Linked DNA regions of Homo sapiens: regions 2, 3 and 4 are each linked to region 1. The links are contacts of gene promoters, found by promoter capture Hi-C in human tissues and cell types (Jung and others, 2019). All regions are on one chromosome and are shown on one strand. The core of a region is centred on a gene start or on the middle of the fragment in contact, and the rest is flanking DNA. Distances in the headings are between cores, read along the strand shown.

Evidence for each region. Contacts are between HindIII fragments. The study calls those that stand out against the background at their distance.
Region 2: a fragment that was not itself captured here is called in contact with the fragment with the promoter of ADAMTS5 in region 1 in 1 of the 25 tissues and cell types used here (dorsolateral prefrontal cortex).
Region 3: a fragment that was not itself captured here is called in contact with the fragment with the promoter of ADAMTS5 in region 1 in 1 of the 25 tissues and cell types used here (dorsolateral prefrontal cortex).
Region 4: a fragment that was not itself captured here is called in contact with the fragment with the promoter of ADAMTS5 in region 1 in 1 of the 25 tissues and cell types used here (aorta).

The regions. Positions count from the first base shown.
Region 1 is chr21:26,962,693-26,970,218 of GRCh38, forward strand. It overlaps ADAMTS5 (ADAM metallopeptidase with thrombospondin type 1 motif 5), which reads right to left and starts at 4,396. Exons shown (of 8, transcript NM_007038.5): 1 at 2,596-4,396. The coding sequence starts at 3,699. It overlaps LOC124905050, which reads right to left. Exons shown (of 3, transcript XM_047441063.1): 2 at 4,752-5,278; 3 at 3,964-4,392. The coding sequence ends at 3,964. The HindIII fragment of the contact is 10,779 bases long and covers 1-7,526 here.
Region 2 is chr21:28,777,601-28,785,126 of GRCh38, forward strand. It overlaps a transcript of HEMK2 not described here. Among named protein-coding and RNA genes, the nearest start is that of HEMK2, 100 kb to the right of the region's middle. The HindIII fragment of the contact is 3,832 bases long and covers 1,340-5,171 here.
Region 3 is chr21:28,443,084-28,450,609 of GRCh38, forward strand. No RefSeq gene overlaps it. Among named protein-coding and RNA genes, the nearest start is that of LINC00161, 92 kb to the right of the region's middle. The HindIII fragment of the contact is 3,666 bases long and covers 1,665-5,330 here.
Region 4 is chr21:28,064,357-28,071,882 of GRCh38, forward strand. The region is part of intron 1 of LINC01697 (long intergenic non-protein coding RNA 1697); the gene reads left to right. Among named protein-coding and RNA genes, the nearest start is that of LINC01697, 20 kb to the left of the region's middle. The HindIII fragment of the contact is 3,184 bases long and covers 2,512-5,695 here.

The DNA of each region.
Region 1 (7,526 bases), core at 3,146-5,645:
CTAAGCAACGCACTTCTTACATTCAAAACAGAGTTGTAAAAGTAGAATCTTGGTGCCAACTCTGGGTATTTCTCATTGAAAAGGAAATAGCTCTGAAAGCTTTTCTTTGGGCCTTAAGATAATCTGATTTTCATGAGATGGAAGACCTCAGATCATCTCTCCTCCAGACTTCTTTTTTTTTTTCATGCTCTGAAGTATTAGGCAAAGTTCACTTTGCATTGTGAAATACTCTCAAATGAATGCTGCATAAATGCCTTGAAATTTTTTTCAACCCCCTAATTAGTAACACTCTTTTAAATTGGGCGCATCTATTGAAAATACACATGCATTTCAAATATTTGCTTCTTGTGAAGTTAGATGTGTATACTACAGGGCCAACCACAAATGAAATTTGTTTTCCTAAAAGTATGCTTCTGCTTGGCAAGGAGACCAGAGAGGGCCCATGTGAAATATTTTCCATGTGTAGACTAGTTTGAAAAATGCATGTCCTTATAATACTGACAAAAATTAAGATGGACCATTAATTTATTTGTCCCTTGCTTTGTATCTATTTAAAATATGCTGTTAAGTTTCAGACTTTGGAAAAATAGGGACAGTTAACTATCCAAACAAAAAACAAATTCGGAAAAAGTAATCGACAAATCATTGAGAATCACTGAGTAGTTTCCTGTTTTCTGGGAAACAATTAGGAATGTTATGGGGCAGGAGGTAGGAAGTAACAGACCTTCTATTAATTTTTATTTATTTTAAAATTATGAAATGTGGATTTGTGTTTAAAAATGAAAGTGAACTACTAAAATGACCCACTCCTTGGCGCAGTATGCTTACAAAAGTATTTCTTCCTCTTCCTTTAGAGAACCTCCTTCCATAAACTCTCCAAAGCCTCCTTCTTGGCATCCTCTTGTGATGTAGCAGAGCAAGGAACCCCAGACACGGAAAGTTGCTTACCAAAAAAAAAAAAAAAAAAAAAAAAAAAAAAAAAAAAAAAAAAAAAAGAGCTTGGAAACCTAACAAGAAATGGATAGTTTTACAGAACTTCATTTTGCAGAGAAGGCTACAAATGAATGTTCTACCGCTTCAAAGACTAATGTTGTGCAGAGGAATTAAAGGATGGCTTCCAGAAAATCACTTAATGAGGAAAAAAATGTTTTCCATTGTGCACAGCACTGCGCGCTGCTTGGCTCTCCCTAAACTGCCGCCCTCCAGCATCTTTGTTTACATGTGGTTTACATTAATGTCCACCCTATGAACCACAAGTGTTTCTCTACTCCAAATTTATCAACACTTTTCCTTCATACCAGGGGTGCCTTAGTAAAAATAGAAGAATTAGGTAGCGAAGCTGTGTGATTCTAAAGTCTGCAATCCATCATTTAATTTCCTATCCTTGTTCTGTTTGCTTCATTTCATACCATGATTTTACATAATACTTCAAAGTTTGTAATCCTTAATCTATTCTGGATGGGTCTCAAATACTTAAAGAATGAGCTTTAGAAGTCAATTCTTACCAGGCATTTAAGAGGCACAACTTAAAACTGCCAATCAGAGTCGAGTTGTGACAACTGAGGCTTAGAACTATGCGCAAGCCAGGCCCCAAACCAACCCAGACTTTTTGTGTAAATGTCACACTAACGTAGTGGTCAAATACTGTGTAAATAGATACTGCGTTCCTCCCTGAGCCTCTGAGCCTTAAAGATCCATTTCTTTGCTTCCCCATAACCATCTTTCTTAAAAGGGGGAAATGCTGGGAAAACATTTCTTCCTTCTGTCTTGACTCTTCGCCCAGATCTTCTGCACTGGGGCTTCGGAAACATATTCATCCAAAACCCAAACACGCAAACGGGATGTGACCCTCCCTAGGCGGCGGAGTTGGCCTGGGCAGTGCTTGCGACGCACTGGTCGACTAAGCAAAGGAGTTGTTAAGGAACCTCACAAGTTTGTCCTCTCATCTGATTGGGTCTCTGTACCCTGCTGGCCCGCCCACATTCCTTCCTTCCCAGGAACTGAGATTCCAAGGTGGACATGTAAGAACTCCATTAGGAATCCAACCTGGAAAAAGAGTCCTTGAGAAAGTTTTCTCATCCTCTGTGTAACAGAAGGGATTCTAGTAAAAAGGTGTGGACACTTACAAAAGAAGGTCATCGGATAACAGTGAGTACCGTGAGTGAACCATCCAGCCCTTTCCATTAGGTGGGACAAGGTTATATTTTATTTTCACTGGAAAGAAGAAGACCCATGATCCCAAAGGCAACTTTGTTTTCCTTCCTTTTCCCCATTTAACTGTATCATTTCCCCAAGCATCCTTGTGCCTTCTTATGTTTACGTTCCTATGCCACAACACCTCAGACTAGATGACATGCAGCACTACTGGGTCTTCATCATCACCTAAGCAAGTCTTGGCATTTAAGGCAAAAATTTCTGCGGGGCTAACGTGAATACAGGAGCAGAGTTGAAGGCTGGTTGGATTTCCTGCAAGAAGCAGTTAAACACATCCACAGCTGCAGGAGGTTTGAGGGAGAAGCAAAGCCACCAGCAAGATTCCCTTCTACCTACCTCCTGATATCAGCGCTGGGACCCCCGCATCCCGGCTGGACCTACCTCCCGAGTAAACAGGATAGCTGCATCGTAGTGCTCCTCATGGTCATCTCCCAGCTGGTTGTGTTGGTGCTGCCACTTGCAAAAGTTCTTGAGTGTGGTGGCAGCGTTCTTGCTCACTTCCAGGCTCTTGTCCTTGTCGCCTAGCACCACCACCTTCACCACGGCCAGGCGGATGTGGTTCTCGATGCTAGCATGGCTGTACAGCCTATTGGCGATGGAGGCCAGGGTCAGCAGGTAATGCTGCAGGCCCCGGCCATACAACCGCGCCATGGACGCGTCAGCCACCAGAAGCAGCTCCACCTGGCGGGCCCGGGAGATGGAGCGGCGCCGCCGCCGCCACCACGTCTGCGGTCCTGAGCCCCCAGCGGGCGAGAGAGCGGACTGGTCCAAGAGCTGCGAGGCCAGTGCTGCGCGTCCGCTCGGGTTGCTGTGCGCCGGAGCATGCTCGTGGGCCTCCGGTGTGGACGCGGGGGTTTCGCAGCTGGCGCGCGGCGGCAGGGCCTCGAAGCTGAAGCCCTCGCGGGTGTAGACGTGCAGGATCCGTGCGGACCCATCCCCGTACACGCGCCCCTTTTCTTCCTCCGCCCAGGGTCCGCGCAGCAGTGGCTTTAGGGTGTAGCGCGCGTGCTTGACCGCGAAGAAGCCGTCGAGACCCCCACAGAGGTCAAAGACAGCCAGAGAGCGGGGACTACCGTCCACTGTGCCCCGATAGAAGCAGTGGCTCCGGTGGCGCCAGGGCGCACTCGTCCCGCCTCCTGCGGGCACGAAGCCAGCAATGCCCACCGAACCATCTCGCTCCAGGTCCAAGAGGAACCTCCGGCCGCCCGCGTAGACGAGGTAGCCCACCTTGCCGCCGCCGGAGTAGAGTTGGTCGATGTTCTGCACCAGCCCCTTGCTCCTGCGCCGCTGCGCCAGGGGGTGCGGGTGGCCGGGAGGCTCGGCTCGCTCCTGCACCTCCTCCCCCTGCCGCCGGCGGGGCTGGGCGGCTGCTGCAGCAGTCGGAGGCTGCCCGGCTTTATCCTGGGCAGGTGTCGCGGCGGGGCCGACCGCGGCCAGGGGCAGGCGGAACGCGCACAGCAGCAGGGACGCCCACCCGAGCAGCATAGTGCGCTGCCCGCGGGGAGGGGCTGCGCGACTGGGACTTTATGGGTATTTGTTATTTGCTATGAAGTTAACGGGGCGGGGGATGGGGACACACACACACTTGCTTGCAGGATTGAGTCAAGTGTCGGAGGGAGGGGGGCCCGGCAGCAGCGCCAGCCTGTCCGGGCTGCGGTGCCAGCGTGCGAACTTTTCTTTGTTGCTTGGGAAAATGTTTGGATTCGTGCTCCAGAAAGAGGTGGGGTGGGGGGGGGGGGAAAGAAAAGATTAAAAAAAAAAAGTCGGATAGTGGAGATTCAGCAAATACGGGAAAAGGAAAAAAACAAAAACCAAAAAACCACCAAATGCAGGCACGATCGCTGTTTCAAGAAAAGTAAGGAAAGGTACCGCGCACCGGGCTGGCAACTGGTGCGCGCAGCCTCCCGCCCCCGCGCTGCGCTGGACAAGCCGGCTGTGGAGGTTCCAAGCTCCGGGGCCCACTTCCTTTCTTATTTTGTGGGTTTCCTTGGCTCTGCTGGGACCAGGAGGAAGGGAAGAAAGAGAGGGGAAAAAGCCGTAAAAATTAAAACAAAAATGCAGGGGGGCAGCCTGAGGCGAGCTGGTGAAGCGGCGTGTCTGTGTCCCTTCGGCTGCGGTCTCCTCCTGCCCGCCGTCATCCCCAGTCGGCAGCTGCGAGCGCCGAGAGCAGCGCGAGCGCTGTGAAGATGCGAGGAGGTGGAACAATGAATTTATAGCGGCATGCCATCCTGCAATGGCAATTTCAACAGTTCGTCACTGCACGCTGCCTCTTAAAGGGAGAGCTTCCCCCACCACTCCCACCCTTCCCAGTCCGCGCCTAATCAGATGGGGGAGGGCAAAAGAGGAGGGTGATCGAGGAAAGGGAGACGAAGTAGGAGGAAGGGACTGGGACCCGGCGAGGTGGTAGGAGGGGAGAGGGGAAAATAAAAAGTAATGGGGCAAGAAAAACAGATTTCCTTGGCCACTTTTAAAGCCACAGCGGCTCCGGGTCTGTCTGATATTTCACAACCAATTGGGGTTGGCTAACCTTGGCTTACCTCATCTCCTGAACGGGTGTTTTGGTTAAAGTTATTGAGACGTTTCAAGTCTCTCCCTGCCTCCTTCTTGCCTGCTTTTCTCGCCCTCGGTGGGAAGTTCCTGCCGCAAGTTTTTCCCCTTTGCACACCCGTGCGCTCTGGCCTCGCAGACCGTGCAACTCCATCCACCAGCCAGAGCTTTTCAGCTTCCCGTGCGTCCCCTAACCACCGCGTTCCCTTCGCTTCCTCCCCTCCGTCCCGGCACCCGGTTTCCTCCCTCCCCATTCTCCAGCCTCTTGATGCTTTGACGCTCGCCGGATTCGGGCTCCGGGTGACTAACTTCTCCCGGCCACCAGCAGAGCGGCTGGACAGCCAGAGAGCCCAGGGCGCTTCCTGGCGCGCTGCGGTACCCCGGGGCGAGAACGCCCGCCGCTTGGGAACTCCGCAGCTTTGTGTGCGAACGGCGGGCTCCCAGCTTTCTCCAGCACGCCTTTCGTCAGGGTCCACAATCTGTCCCTTACTCCCAGCCCACTGGAACTTCCTTTGCTCTAAAAAGGCAGAGCGAGAAAGAGTTAACTCTTAGAGGGAATTCCGCTCATTTTTTTTCCCTGAAAGATTTTAAAATTTTGCGCTCATACTTTTATTTTTTGCTTAAATGATACTTTAATAATAAATTCCTATATCTGTTTTTGTCTCTTCTAAAGCAACCACTTATCGCCATAGGCCTTGACCTACCTTCATTCTCAGAAATTCCTTTTAGAAGAAAAAGAATACTTTTGGCGGAAGGAAGATTGGTGCTTATTAGTACGCGGGTGACATTATCACTGCTACTCGTTTCCTCTGACCTCTTTGTTTCCTCTAATTATCATTCTAAGAAGGGAGAAGGAAAACCCGACGACTTATGGTTAGAAGGTCTACCTTCTACTGTAGGGGTAAGAGCTCCCTCCATGCCCAAATTATTCTTCAGGCTAATTAACTAATGCACCAGTGAAAAATGAATGTGGTGTAATTTGTACATTTCCATCTTTTTCTACGTTTAACTTTGGCTACGCTGGGGATAGCAGGGCGGGTGCCTTAATGGGGCCCCAAGCTGATCGCTTTCTCTGGGAGGGAACCATGAGGGTCCAGAGCTTGATGGAGGTTCTTAGAGTGGCAATAATCCTCTGGAAGGAATTTCAGAATTGCCCGGCAACAATACCCATTGCCGTGTGCCTGGGAACACCCTCTGGAGTCTTGTGAGGGGCAGATGTATCATCTTGTTTTAACTTATAAATAAAGAAATCACTGGGGCCTTAGGGACACCCAACAGCCCCTGATAGATTCTGAAATACATCAGGACCAGGGAGGAAGTTACTATTGCTGAAGGCCATTGCTTTATAATTCCACAATGCCTCAGCCTCTCAGTGGCCAGTTGACCCAGGCCAATGCTAACAGCTGGATGGGTCAGAATAGGAGGTTCCAGCCATTTTCTCTATCCCACCAAGGCCTTTGAGCCTTGCATTAGCCGTTCTCTTTTGTGGTCCTTGCTTTGCACCTACAAATAGCAAACTTTTATCTTTTTAACCAGTTACAGTGAAAAGGAGTCCAATATTTGGCACTAAACACCATTTCTAATACAACCTTGATTCAATAAATTTAACAATTTTGTCATTGTTCATGCCAAAGAATCATTTTAATAGGCATTTTAGGTGACAGTGGTTAAAATTTGTTAATTACAATTATTTTCATTCACAGATAGATTTTGTTATTTAGGATTTCAGGAAATTCCAACAGATTCTCTTTTCTTTGATGGTCTTGAACTCATAACCTCCAGGGATTCTCCCACCTGATGAGACACAGTGACGGCTTGAATTTTCTTCTTAATGAAGCTTTTCTCCTCTTTCACAAACACCGTGCTGAATCCTGAATCTGAATATTATGCCTTTAAGTTTAATTATATAGTGACATTTGTACTCAGTTTATTCAAATATTTAAAAATACATGGGGAGAACAGGATAGACACAGATAAAGTTCCAAACATGAATATCAAGCACAGAATATTTACTAGAGGTATATATTCACAAGGAAATAAATACTAAATCTTATGAATACAATGAATAAATTCTTACATCTCAGAAAATTTCTACTTCGATATAATTTTTTTTTTAGAAAGTAACTTGGACACTTTGGAAACTTCATTTGGTAGTATTTTTAAAACATTACACTAGTGGATTAGGATGAGCTGCTACGTTGTGGAAAAAATTACTATCTGTCACTCTAAGGAAGTAATTTGCACTGGATAAAAGTAGCTGAACTTTTTATTTTTACAGTAGAAAGGAAAAATATATTAGCAATCATGTTTAAGCAGAATAACTGCTACTCATTCAAAGTAACAGTTTTATTTGTGCACATTTAATGAGAAATTTCCACTGAATTTATAGAGTATATGATCACAAATACCATGATAGATGATTTTACATTTCCTAAAAGGAAGAAGGACTTACTACTCCAGAATGTTATAATTTATCTTGGAGATCAGGTAGGGCAACTTTCTCCATCTAACTGTGAAAAGCTGAGACCCAGAGGCCAAAATGGCTTGCCTGTGGATAAAAAAGTCCACTAGTGGCCGAATGTCCTGAAACCTAAATCTCCCAGCTCCTAATTTGGGCTCATTCTACAACACTTCTTACAATGTATCCAGTTTAACAAATATCTATCAAGGTCCTACTGCAAAGTGCTTTATGAGGCTCTCTGGAGGCATGAGAAGATGAACAAGTCATGAGTAATGTCTGGAGGAAACTCACAGTTTAGAGATGG
Region 2 (7,526 bases), core at 2,006-4,505, 1.8 Mb after region 1:
AAGGAAAAGGGGATGAAATGGCTTAGGATAGACCAGCAACTGTCACAGCAGAATTAAAGAACACGTTTGGCAAGAGGAGGAGATCTGGTCACAAATGAAGGACCTTTGTTGTTAGAATAAAAAACATTCTTGTCCTCCAAAAGATTAAAGATAAGGTCATCAAACAGTGTTTGATTTCAGAGATATCTTCAAAGCCTAGCTAGTGAATTCATTTATTTATTAAACAAAGTTAATGGGATATTTGTATCTATGAGACATCAATAAAGTTCTAAAGAAAATTTCCTAAATTTAAATAACAGATTTACTTATAAGCAAGTCTTCCAAAATCCCATGAGAACCTTTACTTTAAAAAATAAATGTTTACCCTTGAAAACATTCTCAGTAGTAGAAAAGAATTGTCATAAATTTTTTGGTGTTACATTTTTAATTGACAAATATACATATTTATGGTGGACAACATGATGTTGTGAAATTTGTATACAATGAGAAATGGCTCAGCTTTTATATAACCACACTCACCTCTTTACCCCACCCATTTGTACACTCCCAGCAACTATTAGGCTATCCTCCAATTCTAAAATTTTGTCAAAATGTTATATAAGTGGGATCATACAGTATTTAACCTTTAGGGGTTGGCTTTTTTCTATCAGCCTAATTCCCTGGAGATTCATCCAAGTTGTCGAATGTATGAGTCTTCCATTTCTTTTTATTGCTGGGTAGTATTCCATGGTATGGATGTGTCATGGTTTAACTATTCGTTTGCTGAAGGCAAACCAAGCTTTTATACACATTCATCAACATGTTTTTATATGAACATGTTTCAATATATCTGCAACCAATGTCCAAAAGTGCAACTGCTGGGTCCTATGGCAATTGCAGGTTAGTTTTATAAGTAAGAGACTACGAAACTTCTTCAGAGTGGTTGTCCCATTTTATATTCCCACCAGCTATGTAGAAGTGGTCAAGGTTCTCTGCATCCTTGCCAGCATTAGGTTTCATTACCATATTTTAGCCATCCAGATAGGTATGTGCTAGTATCTCACTGTAGTTTCTAGTTGCATTTTCCCAGTGGCTAACAATGAATATCTTTTCACGTGCTTTTTGCCGTCTTATATCTTCTTCATTGAAGTGTTTATTCATGCCTTTTGCCCTTTACTAATTAAATTTTTTACCTGACTTTTTTCTTCATATATTGGGGGTTTAGTTGATTTTTTATATATACTAGAAACAAGCCTTTGCTGGATATGTGGTTTGCAAATATTTTCTCCCAGTCTATATATTATATTTCCATCCTTTTCACATGGGCTTTCACAGAGCTAGAGTTTTTAATTTTTATGAGATCCAACTTAATCGATTTTTCCTCTTACGCATCACGTTTTGGTATCCAGATCAACCCAAAGGGAAGCCATAGGACAAGGAGACTTGAAGCTAGACATTAAAATTAGCCTCCTTAACTCCTTAAAAAACTAAACATAGAACTACATATGATCCAGCAATCCCACTTCTGGATAGATGTTCAAAGGAATGGAAATCAGTATGTTAAAGAGATAGCTTCCACTCCCACATTCATTGCAACATTATTTACAATAGCCAAGAGGTGGAAGTAAACTAAGTGTTCATCAATGGATGGATGGATGGATAAAGAAAATGTGGTATATATACACAATGGAATACTATTCAGCCTTTAAAAATAAGGAAATTCTGTCATTTGTGAGAACACAGATGAATGTGGAGGATATCATGAGGAGTGAAATAAGCCAGGAATAGAAAGAGTAATACTGTATGATCTCACTTACATGAGGGATTTTAAAAAGTCAAATTGTTAGAAATAGAGAGTAGAATGATGGTTGCCAGAGGTTGGGAGGAGGGTGTTGGAGAGGTGTTGATCAAAGGGTATAAAGCTTCAGTTAGGCAGAAGGAATAAGGCTTTTAGATCTATTGAGCAGCAGGGTGAGTACAGTTAATAAAAAGGTATTGCATATTTCAAAGTTGCTAAGAGTACATTTCAAACATCTTACCACAAACATATAATGGGTAAGTGAGATCTTCTGTCTCCTTGGGTCACTTTCTCCTGCCATGTTTCCCAGAAACTTTCTCTCTAGATCTTTTCTATCATCTCTCTTCTTCCAGTTCTCAACTTCTCAAGCACCAAAGGACAATTCCAAGGTGTCTATTTCTTTACAAGATGCAGGAATTTAACTCCAAATACTCACCTGAGACTTAGCTCCTGGCCTCCTCTTTCAGTATGCAAAAAGAGTTTATTGTAAGAATTTTCTTGTTTTTAAAAAAAAGCCATCTACACCTGAGATTAATGCTGCTGTTTCCTGAGCATTTCTTTTGTTGCTACATTATTTTTTATTAGACATATAACTCCCTCTGCCAACCCATCATCTGTGTCACTTTAAACAAAAAAAACCCCACAAACTGAAACCTCCCATAGCAGGAAGAGTCTCATTGACCAACAAAGACTGGATTCCCATTGCAAACACTATAACTCAGGTCCATGAGCTATGAGCTTATGAGTAGCTAATGAGACATCACTGGGTTCTGCTTGGGTGACTTTAGAAGACTGACCTAAACAATTTTTTTTTTTTTGAAATGGAGTCTCACTCTGTCTCCCAGGCTGGAGTGCATTGGCACAATCTCAGCTCACTGCAACCTCTGCCTCCCAGGTTCAAGTGATTCTCCTGCCTCAGCCTTCCAAGTAGCTGTGACTACAGGCGCGAGCCACCATGCCCAGCTAATTTTTGGTATTTTTAATAGAGACGGGGTTTCACCGTGTTAGCCAGGATGGTCTCCATCTCCTGACCTCATGATCTGCCCGCCTTGGCCTCCCAAAGTGCTGGGATTACAGGCGCGAGCCACCATGCCCAGCTAATTTTTGGTATTTTTAATAGAGACGGGGTTTCACCGTGTTAGCCAGGATGGTCTCCATCTCCTGACCTCATGATCTGCCCGCCTTGGCATCCCAAAGTGCTGGGATTACAGGCGTGAGCCACCGCGCCCAGCCAGACAACTTTTAAAGTTCATTCTAACCTTGAGATTCAAAGGGACCACCATAATAGTGAACTAAAGCTTTGCTCACTAAAGTAGTCAGACCCAATGTCTATGAAATAAAGTTGTTCAAATCCAAGTCCCAACGCCCTAGACGTCATGGGAGACTTAAGAATTCCTTTAAGCAGCCATTACAGTTCTTCTGCACTTCTATTTTATTTCAACCCCCCCTCCTGGTGGCCTCTATCTTCCCCTGCTGCTCTGGCTCTTGACCACCACCCCTCCTTGGTGACTATGATGTCACTGCTCAGGGACATCACTCATTTATCACCATAGCTCCCAGATAGGCTACACTTATCCTGCAGTGAAGACTTTTCATTGAGACAGGAAGAGTTCTCTCATCATCTTTATAGATATTAAGAGTTTCCCAAAAGCATTTTCCTTTCTCTCTCTGGTTCCTAAATAACTTCTACAAATATGGCTTTATTATCTTCATTTTTCAGGTTTTTTTCAAAGCCTCTATCTCAAGTTGCTTAGAGTACATGCACCCAGGGCCAGGACAGCAGATATGAAAGAGGCAACTCATAAAATCAAATCTAAAAGCACTCTTTTATTATTTGACTTCTTCCTGCAGGTGAATTACCTATCAACTCAAAGTACTCCCTGAAAATTAGAAGATAGCTTTGTATGCTTCTGTTCTATATCAACTTTAGAGGCTTTCAACCTGTTCATCCATCTCTATCATTCTTATTACTTCTCCCAGAAGGATCATTGAGTAATTGGGCAAATGAGACATATAGCTACCCATGACGCCATGCCAGAGTTCCCAATGCATGTTCCTGTGTTCAGAGCTCCCCAAGATCACCCTCAGGCTCAATAATCTTGAAGGATTTCACAGAACTTCAGAAAACTGTGATACTCACAGTTACAGTAATACTACAGTGAAAGGAATCAGATTAAAATCAGCAATGGTAAAAGGTACATAGAGCAAATTTTAAGAGAAACCAGATACAAGTTTCCAGTTGTCCTCTCACAGTGAATTTGTGTGAACAGCTTAATTCTCCCAGCAGCAATGTGGAACAACATGCACAGAGTATTACCAACCAGGGAAGCTCACCTAAGCCTTTAGGCCAGAGTTTATATTGGGAGTCATTTATATGGGTATAGTTATCCACCCACATGGCTGATCTTCAGTCTCCAGTCCCTCTAGTGGTCACATTGATACTGTCTGGCCCAATGTCAGACATAATGGAATTATTTGCATAGATTTTCTGGCCCCAAGGCTTCTAGGTAAACAGACACTGTTATCAGGGAGGATATTCTAAGGGCTTAGAGGTTACCTCCAGAGTAAGGGTCATCCTTTCTTTGGATTGTGCAGGATGTGAACAATCTGCTGAGCTGATCCTTTACTATACAGTTTCATTGGGGCCACCTATAATTCTTAACTTAAAAAACTATTTCATTCAAGATGCAAAAATTGCTTAATCATCAACATAAGCATGAATCACATTCTAGCCATTCTCCCCTTTAACTTTTCAAAACTGAATAGTCTTAATCTTTGCAGTGTGTTCCCAAGTGACAGTGACTTTATTCCTTTGGTCATTTCCCTTCTTTATTTTAATTATTTTAGTTGACACATACAGAACAGAACTGCATCCAGCAGTCAAGGTTCACCTAATACTATAATATACACATAATATTAGGAAAATATATTGTGCCCAAAATGTTTCTGTTTATATCTCAACATTTATAGGCACTCTAGGCAAAAGGAATGGACCTATATCTTCAGGGAACAATCAAGGCTTAGGTTCCTCTCCTAGCTAAATGCAATAAATCCAGTACATTCAATATACACATATAGTTCAGAAACGTTAACTATAAATGCATTACTTTGTGCCTTCACTAACCCACAAATTATACCTATTCAAAAGGAAAAACTTCTTCATGTCATAAAAGGAGACACGAATAATCAAAAAACCTTAAGTAATAACTATAACATATGTAATAGGGAAAAGTTTTAATATCCTTGATATATAAAGAACCCATGAAAAGAAAACTGTTAAATGTTTAAATTTTTAAGTGGTCATGGGGATAAACGGAGAGTGATTGCTAATGAGTATGGGGTTTCTTTTTTGGGTGATAAAAAATGTTGTAGAAATGATTGTGCTGATGGTTACACAACTCTGTGAATATAGTAAAAGCCATTGAATTGTACACTTTAAATTAGTGATTTGTATAGTATTTGAATTATCTCAATAATTATACCTCAGTGGTTATATCTCAATAAAACTACTATTACTTTTTTAAATGGCCAATCTCTCTATAAATTAAATTAACAGTTGACCAGTATGTAAAATGTTTTTTCGCAAGTGCTGGTAACAGTGTAGAATAATGATCTCTTTCACACAGACATCCCTGATACAGGTTGAGTATCCCTTATCCAAAATGCTTGGGAACAGAAGTATTTTGGATTTTGGATTTTTTTCAGATTTTGGAATATTTGCATATATATAATAAGCTATCTTGGGGATGGGACCCAAATCTAAACACAAAATTTATTTGTTTCTTAAACACCTTATACGCATAGCCTGAAAGAATTTTTTTTTTTTAAACAGAATCTCGCTCTGTTGCCCAGGATGGAGTGCAATGGTGAGATCCCAGATCACTGCAACCTCTGCCTCCTGGGTTCAAGCAATTCTCCTGCCTCAGCCTCCCAAGTAGCTGGGATTACAGGCACCCACCACCACACCTGGCTAATTTTTGTAATTTTCGTAGAGACGGGGTTTCACCATGTTGGTCAGGCTGGTCTCGAACTCCTGACCTCAGGTGATCTGCCCACCTCGGCCTCCCAAAGTGCTGGGATTACAGGCATGAGCCACTGCACCCACCTTAAATAATATTTTTAGTATTTTTGTGCATAAAACAAAGTTTTGACTGCGACCTGTCACATAAGGCCAGGTAAGAAATTATATACTTGTGGCATCGTATTGAGAGGTGACAGTGTGCTGGCAGCCCTCGCTCGCTCTTGGCACCTCCTCGGCCTCGGCACCCACTCTGGCCATGCATGAGGAGCCCTTCGGCCCACTGCTGCACTATGGGAGCCCCTCTCTGGGCTAGCCGAGGCTGGAGCCAGCTCCCTCTGCTTGTGGGGAGGTGTAGAGGGAGCAGCGCGGGCAGAAATTGGGGCTGCATGCAGCACTCACGGGCCAGCACGAGTTCCGGGTAGGGATGGGCTTGGCGGGCCCTGCACTCGGAGCGGCCGGCCGGCACCACCAGCCCCGGGCAGTGAGGGGCTTAGCACCCAGGCCAGCAGCTGCAGAGGGTGCGCCAGGTCCCCCGGCAATGCCAGCCTGCCGGCGCTGAGCTCTAATTCTCACCGGGCCTCAGCTGCCTCCCTGCGGGGCAGGGCTCGGGAACTGTTGCCTGCCATGCCTGAGCCTCCCCCCACGGCGGTGGGCTCCTGTGTGGCCTGAGCCTCCCCGACGAGCGCCATCCCCCAGCTCCACAGCGCCTGGTCCCATCGACCACCCAAGAGCTGAAGAGTGCGGGCACACAGCGCGGGACTGGCAGGCAGCTCTGCCTGCGGCCCCGGTGTAGGATCCACTAGGTGAAGCCAGCTGGCCTCCTGAGTCTAGTGGGGACTTGGAGAACCTTTATGTCTAGCTAAGGGATTGTAAATACACCAATCAGCACTCTGTGTCTAGCTCAAGGTTTGTAAACACACCAATCAGCACCCTGTGTCCAGCTCAAGGTTTGTAAATGCACCGATCAGCACCCTGTGTCTAGCTCAAGGTTTGTAAGTGCACCAATCAGTGCTCTGTGTCTAGCTAATCTAGTGGGGACTTGGAGAACTTTTGTGTCTAGCTCAGGGATTGTAAATACACCAATCAGCACTCTGTGTCTAGCTCAAGGTTTGTAAATGCACCAATCAGCACCCTGTGTCTAGCTCAAGGTTTGTAAATGCACCAATCAGCACCCTGTGTCTAGCTCAAGGTTTGTAAATGCACCAATCAGCACCCTGTGTCTAGCTCAAGGTTTGTAAATGCACCAATCAGTGCTCTGTGTCTAGCTAATCTAGTGGGGACTTAGAGAACTTTTGTGTCTAGCTCAGGGATTATAAACACACCAATCAGCACCCTGTCAAAACAGACCAATCAGCTCTCTGTAAAATGGACCAATCAGCAGGATGTGGGTAGGGCCAGATAAGGGAATAAAAGCAGGCTGCCAGAGCCAGGAGTGGCAACCCACTCAGATCCCCTTCCACAATGTGGAAGCTTTGTTCTTTCACTCTTTGCAATAAATCTTGCTGCTGCTCACTCTCTGGGTCTGCACTGCCTTATGAGCTATAACACTCACCGCGAAGATCTGCGGCTTCACTCCTGAGGCCGGTGAGACCATGAACCCACTGGGAGAAATGAACAACTCCAGACAGGAGGAACGAACAACTCCAGATGCGCTGCCTTAAGAGCTGTAACAGTCACCACGAAGGTCTGCAGCTTCACTCCTGAAGCCAGCAAGACCACGAGCCTGCC
Region 3 (7,526 bases), core at 2,248-4,747, 1.5 Mb after region 1:
TTAACACTAATATTATTAACTAACTTATAAACTGTCCATTTAAAAACATGCTTATACATTTATTATGTGTCTTTTTTAATGACTAGATCAGCCAGACTCCTAATAGAAAATTATGACATTCTCAAACTGGATAATTGGAGTTCAATAAAACACCTATTTCTAAAAGTATGGATAAAGCTAAAAATGGTAGCTCAAATAATAGTAAAATACCTCTTTCTTGCAACCTCTGATAGGCAATTGCTCCTCTGGTTTGGAAACTGTCCCTTCCAGAACTCATGCTGAAATGCAGTTGCTATTGTGACAGTATCAAGAGGTGGAGTCTTTAAAAGGTGGCAGGCCATGAGGGCTTCACCCTTACATGTGGAATGGGTGCCTTTATAAAAGGGTAAAATTGGTTTCCTCCTTCTCTCTTGACATTCTGCCTTCCACCATATGATGACACAATAAGAAAGCCCTTGCCAGATGCTGGCACCTCAACCTTGGATTTCCCAGCCTCAAGAAGTAAATTTCTGTTCATTATAAATTACCACATCCGTGTCATTCTGTTATGGCAGCACAAAATGGACTAAGGCAGTTGTCAACAACTTGACAAATCTCAAACTCCCCCTTGGCATCTGAGGTACAAGGCAGAGACCCCACTGAGAAGTCTTCTATGTGTTTACATGACATGAGTGGATTTAGTTTTCCTCATCATAATCTGTCAGAGTTTCCTCTTAGACAAGCTTGTGAAAAATACATCGTCATGCCCTTAACACTGGATTGGAAAAACTGCACCAAAATCGCTTGAAGGAAAACCGACTGAACAAAGTTTCACAATAATGTCACTCCTACAATGCATCATCTATGCAAAACAAGATATCAAATTCTATAACTTTCCAGCACACTAAATTATCTCCCATTTCCTCTACTTTTTTTCTTACAAAAACACATACTACACTCACACACGCACCTTAATTGCCTATCAACAAAAACTGTGTACTGAAACTTCCAAAGAAGTTAGGTGAGGGTTTAAGTATTCCTTTTACATTTGCATGCATGTAAGCACCTGTGATCATAGGTCTTACCTTTCATGGTTTCCTAGGTAATAGGACCTCTTCGTTGATAGAATGATCCTAATATTGACATAGGAAAAGGGGCCACAAATAAGAGTTGGGCTGTTACTTAGGAAAGCTTGTCATTGTTACTTCCCCAGATAACAAGAATAAATGATGCAATAAAAGAATGAGTGCCTGCTTCAGCAACTCATCATTAAAAGTGAAGAACTACCACAGGAAGCAGAACTCGAAAAGAATGTATGCACTTATGCAACCTTTCTTGTAGCTTTTTGCAGCTAATTCTTATTATTATACATCAAGATAAGAAAAAAATCACATAAATCTTTGAAGAAAAATGAATGAAAGAGGGCTTTCTTTAAAGGTTACTAGCTAAATCCATTTCTTTACTTTCTGATTTTTTCTTTCTTTTCTTTTAAATAATCATTGAAGGCATTGATTCAAAGGAAGTTAATGCTGCAAAAGACCTAGAAATCATCTAGGAGTCTTTTGACTTTAAAATACTTTTTCTGAAGAATAATTTGTTCAAGTTCAGTAAAATTCCAACATGTGACAGAGCTTTGTTCTGGCTGAAGTCCACTTGGGTTCCCTTCCTCTTGTAGCTGACATCAGTAGTGGCTTCTACAGGGATTCTGGGTAATTCCTCCCAGAGCACTGGCCTGGAATAGTGCCCTCTATGTAGAAATAAGAAAAAAATGAGGCACAGAAAGATGAAGGGATCCACCATCACAAAAGTGGTACACAGCAGATAAACATCTCTTCTTTGCCTTTTTATCTCCTACATTTGTCTTCTCATCTTTAATTCATTTGGTAGATCTGCAGAATAACTTTCCAGAGAAGATCAACTGCACCACATAGCTAAAAGCTGACTTCCTTTTTTTTTCTTTCATTTCAAAAAATCAAAACACCTGGTTGTGAAATGCAACGTTTTCACAGAATATTTAATTTGGTCCACTTACTGATAGTATCAGTTTTATGTGAACAGTTACGTGGCAATTAAATTTCTCAGATTACCATTTTTTAAAGAGTTCTCCAGAGTGCGTCAATGGCAAGGGATCCATTTTTCCAAACCTGTCTTGTTTCCTTAGTGAGTCAGTCTTTCAAAGCTTATATTGCAGTCATTCTTTGTATTATAAAAGTGATCCCTAAAGTAAGAAGAACAACTACATGTAGTCTCTATAAAATTCCTAGCCTAAATAGTCATTTCAAATGCCTTGCTTTCTCAAGTATTGCTTAATATTATGTATGACTAGCACTGTACAAAATATAGAACACTTGGGAGAAGATTATGGCAACAGTGAGATCTGGGAACATTTGTGTATTGGAAGGAAAAACCATGATTCTGATGGGCAAGAAAGAGAATAATCTTGAACAACAAAAGAAGAATATAAGAGTTTGGCATATCATGCTTTTCCAAACGTATGGCTTCATTTAACAAACTTGGGACAGTCTTTATTTTTTCCATGATTACTTGTGTGTCAGCAGGCATAGCTTGGCCTTCTCCTTCATAGGCCTGACACTGAGTCAATGCTTAGCATCCAAACCACACATAAACTATTTTTTCCCCTAGAAAGTGCTCATTGGATGACTTAATAAAAGTATTTTAATGTTTGGAAAGGAAAAACATGTTTGCCTTATTCCTTTAGATTTACAGCTGCTTAGGGTTTATAGAAAATACCGTTGTCAACAATATTCAAAAGGCAGAATACAAGAGTTTGAGGATGCAATCTTGCTACCCCTATGTTACTCCTACCATTCTGATATGGTTTGGCTCTGTGTCCCCACTCAAATCTCATCTTGAATTGTAATCCCCACATGTCGAGGGAGGGACCTGGTGGGAGGTGATTGGCTCCTGGGGGCAGTTTCCCCCATGCTGTTCTCATGATAGTGCGGGAGTTCTCATGAGATCTGGTTGTTAGATAAGTGTCTGGCATTTCCCTTGCTCGCTCTCTCTCCCTCCCTCTCTCTCTCTCTCTCTCTCTGTCTCTCCCCTGCTGCCATGTAAGACATGCCTTGCTTCCTCTTTGCCTTCCGCCATGATTGTAAGTTTCCTGACACCCACCCAGCCATGTGGAACCATGAGTCAATTAAACCTCTTTTTTTCATAAATTACCTGGTCTCAGTATGAAAATGGACTAATACAAATCCGCATACCAGAAAGCCAGAGTGATGTAGTCTGATGCAGAACAGAAGTTACTATAGAAAGTGTGGCATGGGTGGCTGATTCTTGCAGGATGCTGACTTCTTGATGAGTTTTCAAACCTTGGACTTTGTACACACCAAATTGTTCTGAGATCAGGACAACTGACTTCTGATTCTAGCGAATTTATGCAATTCCTGTAAGAACAGAGCAAGGAAAGATGAGAGCCTGTAGCATTGAAGTCACAAATGATAACAATAGCACCAGTATAATAATAGCAAATGTTTTGGGAGCATTTACTATTCCAAACACTACACTAAACACTACATGCATCATTTTTCTTATTCTCACAATAAACCTTATATTTCTGTTTTGCAGATATGGAAAACAAAGCTTAGGAAAGTTAGGTAATCCATCTAAGTTCACAGAGCTAATAAATTATGGAGTGAATATTAGGAGTCTGGTCTTTCCCTTTAATACCAATACCCTGTTCTTAATCAGCAACAAGGCCACTTCCATCTCTGAGTGAGGAAGGTGGACTAGATCATGTATAAATTCCAGATAAACTCTTTCAAGCTTTTGATTTTATACTAAAAATCATCTCCTAAACTCCACTAGCAGAAAAATAGCATATCATCTCCAGGAACACAGTCCTCAACAGCTGCTTTTCCAACCTCATCTTTCAAAGCAACCTGTTCATACATTTCTCATATTCTAAGTGAACAATTTCCAAGGCCTTTCCACCTCTCTGACTCCATATTCACTGCTGTTTTTTATTCTCACTATTGTCTCCCTTCTTGCACTTTTACCTATCAAAATTCAAACTAGCTATAATTTCCAAACTAAATGCCACTTTCTCCATAAAGCTTTCTCATCAGATGATGTCTGCTCTACGAATAATTTTTAATTACCAACCACACATGTCCTGTGAGATGTTATAGCCTTTTGCCCTGTGGACCACACATACAGTGTGGACACTGTAAAAGGAAAAAAATTGTCTAATAACTCTGTCTAATTATCAATATTGTCTAATGACTCTGTTCACCTACTATGGAAGTGGCTGATTCTTCTCTTATCGCTCATCTTTACCTCTACATTAACCCAAGTCAAGTGCAGCCAATAAGGTCACAATGAACTGCTTATTTGTAATTATTTTCCAAAGGATTAAAAAAGTGCAACATATCATTTACAGATCCTATGTAATCAGGAATCTTTACATAAATAAAAGTCAAGCAATTTCAGAAAAATGCTGCTAGGAAACAATTCTGTCCAAAAATTCAGAAACAACAATACAACCAAGGGTATGCATGTGTAATCCTTTTGGTAGCACATTACAGACATACTTCTAATACTTCTAGTACTTTATATTCTGAAGTTGTATTTTCATTATGGTTTCTCAGCAGGAATTTCACAACCAGTGCTCAAAGCTAATCTCAACATCGCTGATCTAGTTTCAAAAAAAAATAGTAATAGCAACAGCAAAAATAAGGTTGAAGAATAGAGCTTTTGTATGATACAAACTTCAATTAGATGACACATCAATCTTTTCACATGCCATAAAACATACACATGTATCTGGAAACCTCAGTTGCAGTGCACAAGAATTAAATGAATATTAGGGAGATAAAGGGAGATTATTACAGATGTACAAGTAGAGAAGGAAGAAAGTTGGGGAGAAGGATCAATGAGTTGATGTTCAATGCTAAGAAAGCATAGATCCCAGGTCCTAGAAGCAGGGTTCTCTGCTCTCAGCATTCTTGACCAACCTTCAATGGCCTCAGTCAGATTTGAAGACTTCAAAATAACACATAGGTTTTCCTTTCCTTTAGAAAGGGAAAGAAAAATGAAGAACTGCATTTTCTTTACAGTGAGACCACAACTCTTCCACCTCTGTGCAAAATCTATAGGGTCCCAAGGCAAAAATAAGAAAATATAGCCAACTGCAGATATTAAATAAGTACATGCAGAAAACTTTGTAATTCAAATTTATTGGCTAGTTTGTAACGTGAGTTTTCATACTGAAGAGCTATAACATTTTTATTACAAAATAAAGCTTTTGAAAATGTTAACATTTATATTTTCAACAAACTCATGAATCAGATTTGTCTTATGTCATCTTATTAAGCATCTAATAGCTAATATCTTAAGCGTTTAGTGCTTGATAAACAAATTTTGTTGAGTTTTTCTTTAAAAATGGACATATTAAATTGACTTTTTAAAAAGCTTAATTCATAGCACATTGTTTTGAGTCATAACATCATCATTTGTTAAATTTTAGTTTTTATGAACATTATTTCTAAAATCTAAATCTCAGGTGTGTATTTTCCTTAATACACAAAACCACTATTAACTGTAAACAGAAAGAATTTGATATTAAGTCTAGGGGCAATCTACCTCTTTAGTCCTATAGATCACACCAAGGATGAATAAGACTCATAACAGACATAACAAAAATCTCTGGTAGGCCTAAGACATAGGTTGGGAAAGGGGAAATTATACAGAAAAAGACATAAACAAAAAGGATAAAAGTACTTAGGAAATAAAGTACATATAATAAAAGTGGTGGTAAGCAGTGGTGTGAAGACAGGGTACTTCAGGGGACATGTAAGTTTCATGTACAATAAGGCATAGTCATGGGATCAACTTCTCATAGAAAATACTGTCATCAGAGATACACTTTAAAATGCAAAACACCACAGTATAACTTCCAAACACATTAACCTGGAGAGGAAAACACAGACAAAAGCATTCTGATGTGAGAATACATCTTTCAAACGAATGCAATAAGCCAAGAACCACCTCCAATCTAATGCTTAGATGATTGGGAGCCAGGACCAGCTCAAGGCCCTGGTCAACTGTACATGCTTTTGCAGTTGTCTCAAGAATCTTCCAGTGATAAGCCAGACCACTAATAACTGATTCCAAGGTTATGGCGTAGAGAACTGAAAAGGTTCCTTAATTGAAAAGGTTCCTTACCCTTCACACTGCTAACACTTTGTTTCCTTACTCACAATTAACCTTATGATCTTAAATTATAGACCCCACGTAATAAAGCTGACTTAATAAGAAACATCCTGCCTTATTCTGCAAAACAATAAAGAAGTCACTCTGATTCATTCAAATTATGGTAAATTTAATTTTTTGTGAATTTCATGTAAAAGCTCTATTAAAAAATCTAAAATAAATACACTTGCTCAGATACAAAGAATAAAACAAATTGCAAGAACGTTAAGTCCTAATCTGGTGGTTCTCAACATTTGTAACAATTTAGAATCACCCAGGAAACATAAAAAAAGAGAAGATTCCTAGGCTTCCATCCTCAGAACAATTATATTACACTTTCTGGGAGGTTAGACTCGGGCATCAGTATTCTTTAAAAGCTCCTCAAGTCATGATAATATGCAGCCAAGGTAGAGAACTACAGGCCTCATCTATTTGCTTATGAGATGGTAGCGGAGTGATAGAAGGAAATTCTCCTATGAGATGAGAATTCAAACTCAAATTACACAGGATGAGATGTGTTGTTTGGGGCAAATGAATCAAGCTCTCTGTGCTTCAGATTCTGTATCCTTAAAATGGAGGACAAATATCTTCTCTTAAAGACCAGATACTTCTCTGGGTTGTTTAAGGATCAATTATCATAGAACAGCTGGCAAGTGGTGAGATTGCAACAAGCTGGAATTCCCTCTCACTCCTGAATGCTTCCTTTCTCCCTCTGCCATTGATCTGATATAAGCCTTTACCAACTAAGCGATTTATTCCCTTCATTTCACAAAATATTGCTTTCTCACGAAAAGAAAGTGGTGATTATTAATTTCTAGGGATACTAAAAATTAAGTATTTTTAAATTTATTCATTCCATAGTCGTTTTAATATATTTATTAAAAATAATCTAAAAATATGCATTATCTACCATATCTCAGTAGAACACTTACTCTTAAAATAGTAATCCTCATGCAAAAATGGTCTAGAAGGAGATAGACATTTAAAAATACAATGAATCACACAGGTACAATAATAGAAAAAAAACATATGATAAAATGGATGAAAAGAGAAGAAAGTGTCAGGAAATGCTTTGAGCAGAAAAAAAACTCCAGTGCGATTACAGATCTTTCTTACTAAATCTGCTTGCTAACCAAGCTTATTCTTTCATATAAAGGACCATTTAAGAAATCAGTACATTGTAATTTCTAATCTTCTAAATGACTGTTTGCCAAATTCACATCAATTTGACAAAAAAATCAATGAGAATGTCAAATATTGTAAAGAACATCTAAAATTATCAGAAAGACAGCATAATAAAGAAAACTATTTAAACTAGTTAAGGGTGAACA
Region 4 (7,526 bases), core at 2,854-5,353, 1.1 Mb after region 1:
TCAGGAGGCTGAGGTGAGAGGGTTGCTTGAAACTGGGAGATAGAGGTTGCAGTGAGCCAAGGTCACGCAGCTGAACTCCAGCCTGGCCAAAAGAGCAAGATCCTAGCTCAAACCAAAAAAATAAATAGTTTGCATCCCTTGTATAACATTTAATGTAGTATCTTGGATTATAATTTCTTTAGTGCCTCTCACCCCCAGTAAATTGTAATCCACTTAAAGAAATGAGTCTTAAATTTAATTTTACTACTTGAAGTTTTTAGAAAAATAGCTTGTCCATAGTTGGAAATTAATCAATGTTTCTAAGGCATTATAAAAATGTTATGATGCTATACCAATCATGTGGTACTCATCTTCTCTCTTTACTCAAGATTTGCTTTCTCTGAAGAAAGCGGAATTGTGAACAGGTGTTGAAGGCACACATCATGAGATATTGTGGAGCAAAAGAGCACACATAAATATTGATGTTTATCCCATGTATTTATGGTTTGGGGGTTGAGAGAACTATGTTGATGTCAGAATCAACAGAGTTGGTGTTAAAGGGCAATTCCTTTCTATTTTCAGGCAATCTACACATCATGGTTAGTAGGTTTCTAAATAAACGTCAAGCTTGGATGTTTTGTAAAATATTAGTTTCAGTACAGTACTGTTACATGATGTTACATCAAAGATTTTGCATAGGTATCCATCTAGTTGCTCTACAGTGAATAATTGGGTGGGGGAGAACATTGTGGATGTTCTAATTACTGCACTTCATGTGTTTGCTGTATTTAGAAATTTGAATATTTCCAGTAAGTAAGCCAGGTATTCTGGATTTAAGTAAATACAACTTCAGCTTTAGTAGTTGTCACTGTATTTCCTCTGACAGTTTACTGTGTTTCTTTCTCTCTTTTAAAACTTCCTCTTCTACTTTAAGTACTTTATCCATTCTGTTTCTAGGACTTGTCATCCTCTGCTCATTCTCCACATCATTATGTTCTTTTACTAAGAAATTTTATTTCCAATCTCATTTCTTTTTACCCCAGATAATTTTTTTCCTAATAATTTTTTTTCTAGTTTTGATTTCAGCTGCCAAATATTTGATCCAAAATGGTTCTCTTATTCTCAGTGGTATTCGGATTCCTTCATTGAATTTGCCTGCACTGGAAACTAAACCAGTCAGAAGAACCCTTTGGTGGGACTTTGGTTCTGGATTTCATTCAGGGACCACAGAGCTGCTCTTGAACTCAAGCGTTCTCAAGAAGACACTTCAGTGCTCTGCTAGTAAAAACTGTGTATCCATGCAAGTTCAGACTCATTACATAAGCATTCCAATTTTTTTTGTCACAAAGAAAATCGTGCACATCTGCTATTTAAATAGTCTCTGGCTAAAAAAGTTGTTGCTTCTATATAAGAAAGCATAGCTTAGATATACATTACAGTGTTTCTTATTGTCATCCAACACACACACATTCTGTTTGCTTAATCCATTGCAGTCTCCTTCTCTGCCCCTTTTTACCCAAAGTTCCTTTCTTGGAGTGAGATGAGGGAATGAAGGAAGGTTTAGATTTAAATAAACAGACTGTAGGGGTTTCCTGAGGCTATCACATGGTGGATGCCTCTGCTATAAAACTTTGTCTTAATAAATAACATTATATTCACATGAATATTGAGTTAAATTGATTCATTTTGTGTGTCCTTTTAAAGATTGACTTTGGAAGTCTCCCTTTTTAGGAGATTTTAGAATTGTGTTGGAGAAATTGGAATTTCATTAACAACATATAGTCAATGCAGGTAACTGTTTCAGGTGCTTCCTCAAAGCAAGGATGACCCAGGAGAGATACAATCATCTTAGTGTGCTTTATGTGATTCATATGAAATTCAACCCTTTTGGAGTTTCAGTTCTTAGCAAAATACCACTTCCTGTTTTTGAGGAAAAAAATGGCATAAGAAGTCATATAAAAAGACTCATAAGGCCCTTGGACATCAAATAACTCTTACAAAACAATATTTTAATGAATTAAGTGTAAATGAATCAGAAACATGTGGGTTGAATTTCCCTTGAAATACCCATGGGCTTAAAAATTAAGGGGAAAAAAAAAAAAGAATTGCTTGGCAAAAAATCATGTTCATTTTATCGAGCTCAAGCCTTTTGATAAAAAAAAAAGAAAAAGGAAGCAGCCTTGATTTGGTTGACTGAATTAAAAATTTAAAAAAAAAACACGACCATAGTCTTTATTTGTATTTTTAAATTCTGCAAAAGCCAGGTTGCAGATATAATTATGTGTCTATTTGGGTGTCAGATTCATTAATGTTAGACCATTTTTCAAGGACGGTAACATTTTGATTAACCAGAATTCTCAAGTAATGGTTGTCTTTCCCAGGGCAGAAGTGGCAGCCAGAAGGAGAACTAAAGACTGTAGTTCAAATAAAGTTCATTAGAGCAGAAGTAAAGAAAACATGGTAATCATTCAGTTCACTAACCAAGAAGATCCAAAATCCAAAGGAGTAGTGGGCCCGGTTAGCTAACCACTGAACAAAAGTCTAGAAAAACAGTCATGCAAGGGCTGGAGCTCAGAAGATAAGGAAAGCTAAAAATAAGTGGAAAAATCTGTGTACTGAGGGGAAGATCTGGGATAAAAGAAAATGCTGACAAAAGAAAAATAAAAATTGCAAAGACTGAAAAACTTCGAGTGGCAACTAGAAATGGCCAAAGTACAGCAGGGCAGAGGGGTTGGAAAACTTCTAGAGATAGGAAAAGCCGGGCAGATATGAATATTCAATGCCGTATTGTGAACACAGATGTTAATATGAGTAAAAAATGTGAGTTGTTGGCTCTGCCAACTTCGTCATAGAAGCCATGCTACTCACTGCACCTGTAATGTGCTTAGGTTAGGGTGTCTTAAAATACCTATGGATGCACGCAAGATTATTTATGACTCATTTGCAGAGACATGTTTATATTCAGATTTATTCAGGTTTTGGTGGAGTGAAGAATTTGAATTTAGAGAGTCTAGGAGACCTAGTTTTCTGATAGGGAAAAAGCTGCAATTGGAAGAGAGAGTAAAGATGTTACATAGTAAAGAGAAGTTTGGGAGTCACCCTTCTCCAGCTTAGGGTAGCTCAGCTTCCCTCTGTAGGTGAGAACCTGTAGGTCAACCAACATAATGTTTAGTTCTTTCAGAAATATTTGTCCTGAACTCTTATATTAATAAACAGCTTGTTTTGTAAAGCAGAGATAGGTTAAAGTCTTTAAAAATTATTTTTATTTCCAGGAAATTCTAGTAAATGATAATAATTTGTTGATATAAATGTTACCTATTGATGACACCTATACACAAAGAAAGTATTCAAATTGTATAGAAAACATATCTATTGAGAAAGTTAATCTTTTTATTTAAATAGTATTTGTTTAAGCATAGATTTTAGTTAAAAGCCAAAAGTATAGCTTTTACTAGCAATTGTGCCATGATACTGTCTACCACCAGTAACAACCCTTCACCCTAAAAAATAATTTTAAAGAGAAAAAACCGGTAAAGCAATAACAGAAGTGGGCATACATTTTGGGGATAGTAAACTATATTTTGTCTTTCTAGTTTGTTAATTTAAAATAAAAATAACAGGAAAAGACAAAACTGAAATAAAGAATACATTTGCATATGATACAAACTCGTAGAAAACTTGAGTGCCAAGACACAGCTGATGATATTAAAAAGGGAATGATGTGGAACTCAGATCTAGTCATTGAGTCATAATTAACACTCTTAAATACAGATTTTGCCTTTGCCCAGAAAAGCAGGCAGTTTTTTAGTCTTTTTTTATTTTTCCACTTATGTTAAAGAGGTAATGGGAAGAGGTAGGGGAGGGTTATTTCAGGAATTTTTTAAGATTATATCAAGTTTTATCAGTAGACAGCCAGTTCGCTGTCATCCACCTGAGAGAATCATGGTCTAGTATTCCCACTCAGTGATTTTATTTTTCTGTGATCATTACCTTCAGCTATGTTCCATCAATCTTCCTTTCTTAACCTTCAGTGCCATTTGAGCAGAATCCAAAATGTTTTGGCACTTTTAATTACTAAAATCTATACCTTTTAAATTTTAATGTAAACTCAATGTAAAAATCAACTTCTCCTTTTACACCAGCCTGGATTTGAGCTGAAGCTCAAATGGTCACAGAAGGCTGCTGAAGTTGTCTTAAGCAAGGTCTGGCTCAGAGCTGTCTCTTCCTTGCCTTCTTCTGGGAGTAGCTCCTCCAGTGTGCTGGAGTGGAAGAAACGTGAGCCTACAGACTGAGTGTCTTGGCTTAACTGTTCTTGTGATCCTCTCTCTTACTGCCATTACTTCTCTCTCTAACACTGACTGGCCTTTGATAAACTCCAGGTCACCATGAGGTGGCAAATTTTCACATGCTGGTGAAAGAGCCCAGCAAGTGACTGAAGCTTAAAGTCTACTTTAATCACCTCCTGAAAGCTCTGGTAGAATGCCCCGGTTGCTAAAACTGTAACCTTTATGTGAGGGATAACCTCTTTGGGATTGTTATTTTTCTATAAACTTGAGATAGGCTTATATTTATTTAAGAATACTTTCATGCAGTTATATTACCCAGTACCCATCTCTCTTTGCTTAAATCTTTCATACTAAGATTTATACCAGCTTTTAAAGTTCAAGATAGAATCTAAATAATTTGATGAGTCTCGCCATTCAGGATTAGCCCACGGAGCTATCTCACCTATTTCACAATATGTTCTTGTGCTCTTTTTGAATTCTATTTTATTTATAATTGCATAAAACTGTAGGTGAATGACCCTGGATGTCATCACAGCAGCTTGGACAATGTTATCAGTAAATATGCAATATGTGTGCACTCACATGAGTGTGTACACATCTGAGTGTGTATGTATGTATGTGGGGGGGGCTTATATTGGAGATATGGCAAGGAGAGGAGGAGTAACAAACCAAGGCAAAATGAAATTATGCTGTGTAGTCATTTCATATCAGCACACCATTCACTATCTTTATCCAAAATTGCCTTTCGAAAAATTAAGTCTATTTAATATACTGGGAAGGGGACTTAATGAGTTGTTGTATGCAAATTCCTGATTATTTTCCCTCTACCATCAGCAACAGTTCAACAAAGTGCATCTCATCTTACTCTTAGGGTTGTTTAAGAACTTGATCCCTGGGAACACCTGTTAGTAGCATGGCTTAAAATTCTCTGTGTTGTTTTCTCCCCCTTTGGAAGCTGTTTCACCCAGCTGCTGATAATTAGAAAAACAAAGCAAATCCCTCTCATGGATGCTGTCCTCTGGCGAAAGCCAAGCAGCATAAAGCCAAAGAACACCGTAAGCCTTTTTGTTTTAAACGAGGAGGCACGCTGCACTATATTCCTCTTGACTGCAAAACCACAGGAATGGATTAATATCACTAACCACAAGAGACCTTTGTGTACGAATGTGGGGGGAGGGCATGAGAAGAATATTAATCTGTGATGTATGACCTTATAGTTTCTGCAAAAAGTTAAAAGCTGCATGTATTTGAATCAACGCATGATAAATGTATCAGCCATATAAGATGAATAATATGGCTAAATACCAAGAGCTGAGCTCTTTCCCAGAATTAACTATTTTTAACTCAGGAGGCTTTTCAAATATTATGCAGAGATGGACATTCAGTAAATAGAACAGAATTAAATAAGAATTCAAAAGCAAAGCAAAACTCTAGCACCAGATAAGCCCCTTCAATTAATCCTTATCTTTTAATATATTACATATACAATACATGTATGTCTGTAATATATTCAGTGATATGTATATATGACACTTAGTGAATAATTAAGAAAAACATTAAAATTGATATTTTATTGTGTTTAAATACAAGATGAACTGTAGAAGCAAAATGATAGTTTATGTGTCCTACATACTTTTAAAAGAAATAAATCAAGGTGCATTTTAGTAATTTAACATGCTTATAATACTTTTGTTTGTTGAAATAAGAATTTTCTGAACATCTAAAATATGCAAAGCATTTTAGTAGGTACTACGGATACTAAAGAAAAAAATAAAATGGAAGAGAAGCATATTTGTGAATATTTCTCAATAGTCTGGGATTCAAGATCTTATTCCAAGTTGCATTTCAAATCTTATTACTCTTCTACCTGTGTGACCCTCTCCCAGTACAACTGTTTAAAGATTCTAAAGTGAATCCTAGATCTTCAGCAAAATATATGCCCTTTGTATATAATACCTCCCTCCATCTTTAACTGTCAAAATTCTGCAGTCTTCAAGATGTGATAAAACTCACTGGTAGATTATTGCAGGTGGTCATCATGGTGGCAATTAGGGTCTAATCTAGGGTGATGAAAATTGAGGTAAAAATTAAGAAATAGATTCAATAGATTCTACTATATTGAAAAATGTAAGAGGTAGACATTAGTTATCCGTGAGTAATGAAGGGAAATCAGGTGTTTGTGATGATGAAGATTTCAAATCTGGGTGACTAAAGAAGATTAATGCCGTGAATACAAATAGGGATGTCAAAAATACGGGTTCAGTGTGTGAGACAAAGGTGATCAGTTTAGTTATTTTAAATGTAAAATGTCTATGGGACATCCTGGAAATATCATAAAAACATATAAAAATTAGAAGAACTTTAGTCTGGGCATGGTCATTCATACCTGTAATCCCAGCACTTTTGGAGGCCAAGGTGAGCAGATCACCTGAGGTCAGGAGTTCGAGACCAGCCTGGCCAAGATGGTGAAACCCTGTCTCTATTAAAATACAAAAATTATCCAGGCATGGTGGCATGTGCCTGTAATCCCAGCTACTCAGGAGGCCAAGGCAGGAGAATCGCTTGAGCCTGGGAGATGGAGGTTGCAGTGAGCAGAGATTGTGCCACTGCACTCCAGCCTGGGAGACAGAGCTAAACTCCATCTCCAAAATAAATAAATAAATAAATAAATAAATATAGGAGAATGTTAGAGCTGAGCTATAACTAAGCTTTATGGTGCATGGTGCAAATGCATCCTGCTGGAAAGCAATGCTTGAAATTATGAGACTCTGGAGGCCAACAAGAAAAAACATTGATAAACATTTATCTCTAGAGAACAAGAAAAGGTTGAGGAGCAAGCAACCAAGGGACTCAGAAGAAAAACTTTCTTATATTGAAGAGACTAGGAAAAGAGTATCAACAGCCACAGAGTTCAATAATGTTATTTACTGGCAGTCTCCAACCTTTTTGGCACCAGGGACCAGTTTCATGGAAGACAATTTCCCACAGATCAGGGTGGAGGGTGGTTTGTGGATGATTCAAGTGCATTACATTTGTTGTGCAGTTTATTTCTATTATGATTACATTATAATATAGAATTAAATAATTATACAACTCATCATAATGTAGAATCAGTGGGAGCCCTGTACTTGTTTTTCCGCAACTAGAAGGTCCCATGTGGGGGTGATGGGAGACAGTGACAAATCAACAGGTATTAGATTTTCATAAAGAGTGCCCAAGTTAGATCCCTTGCATGCACAGCATAGGGTTCACGCTCCTATG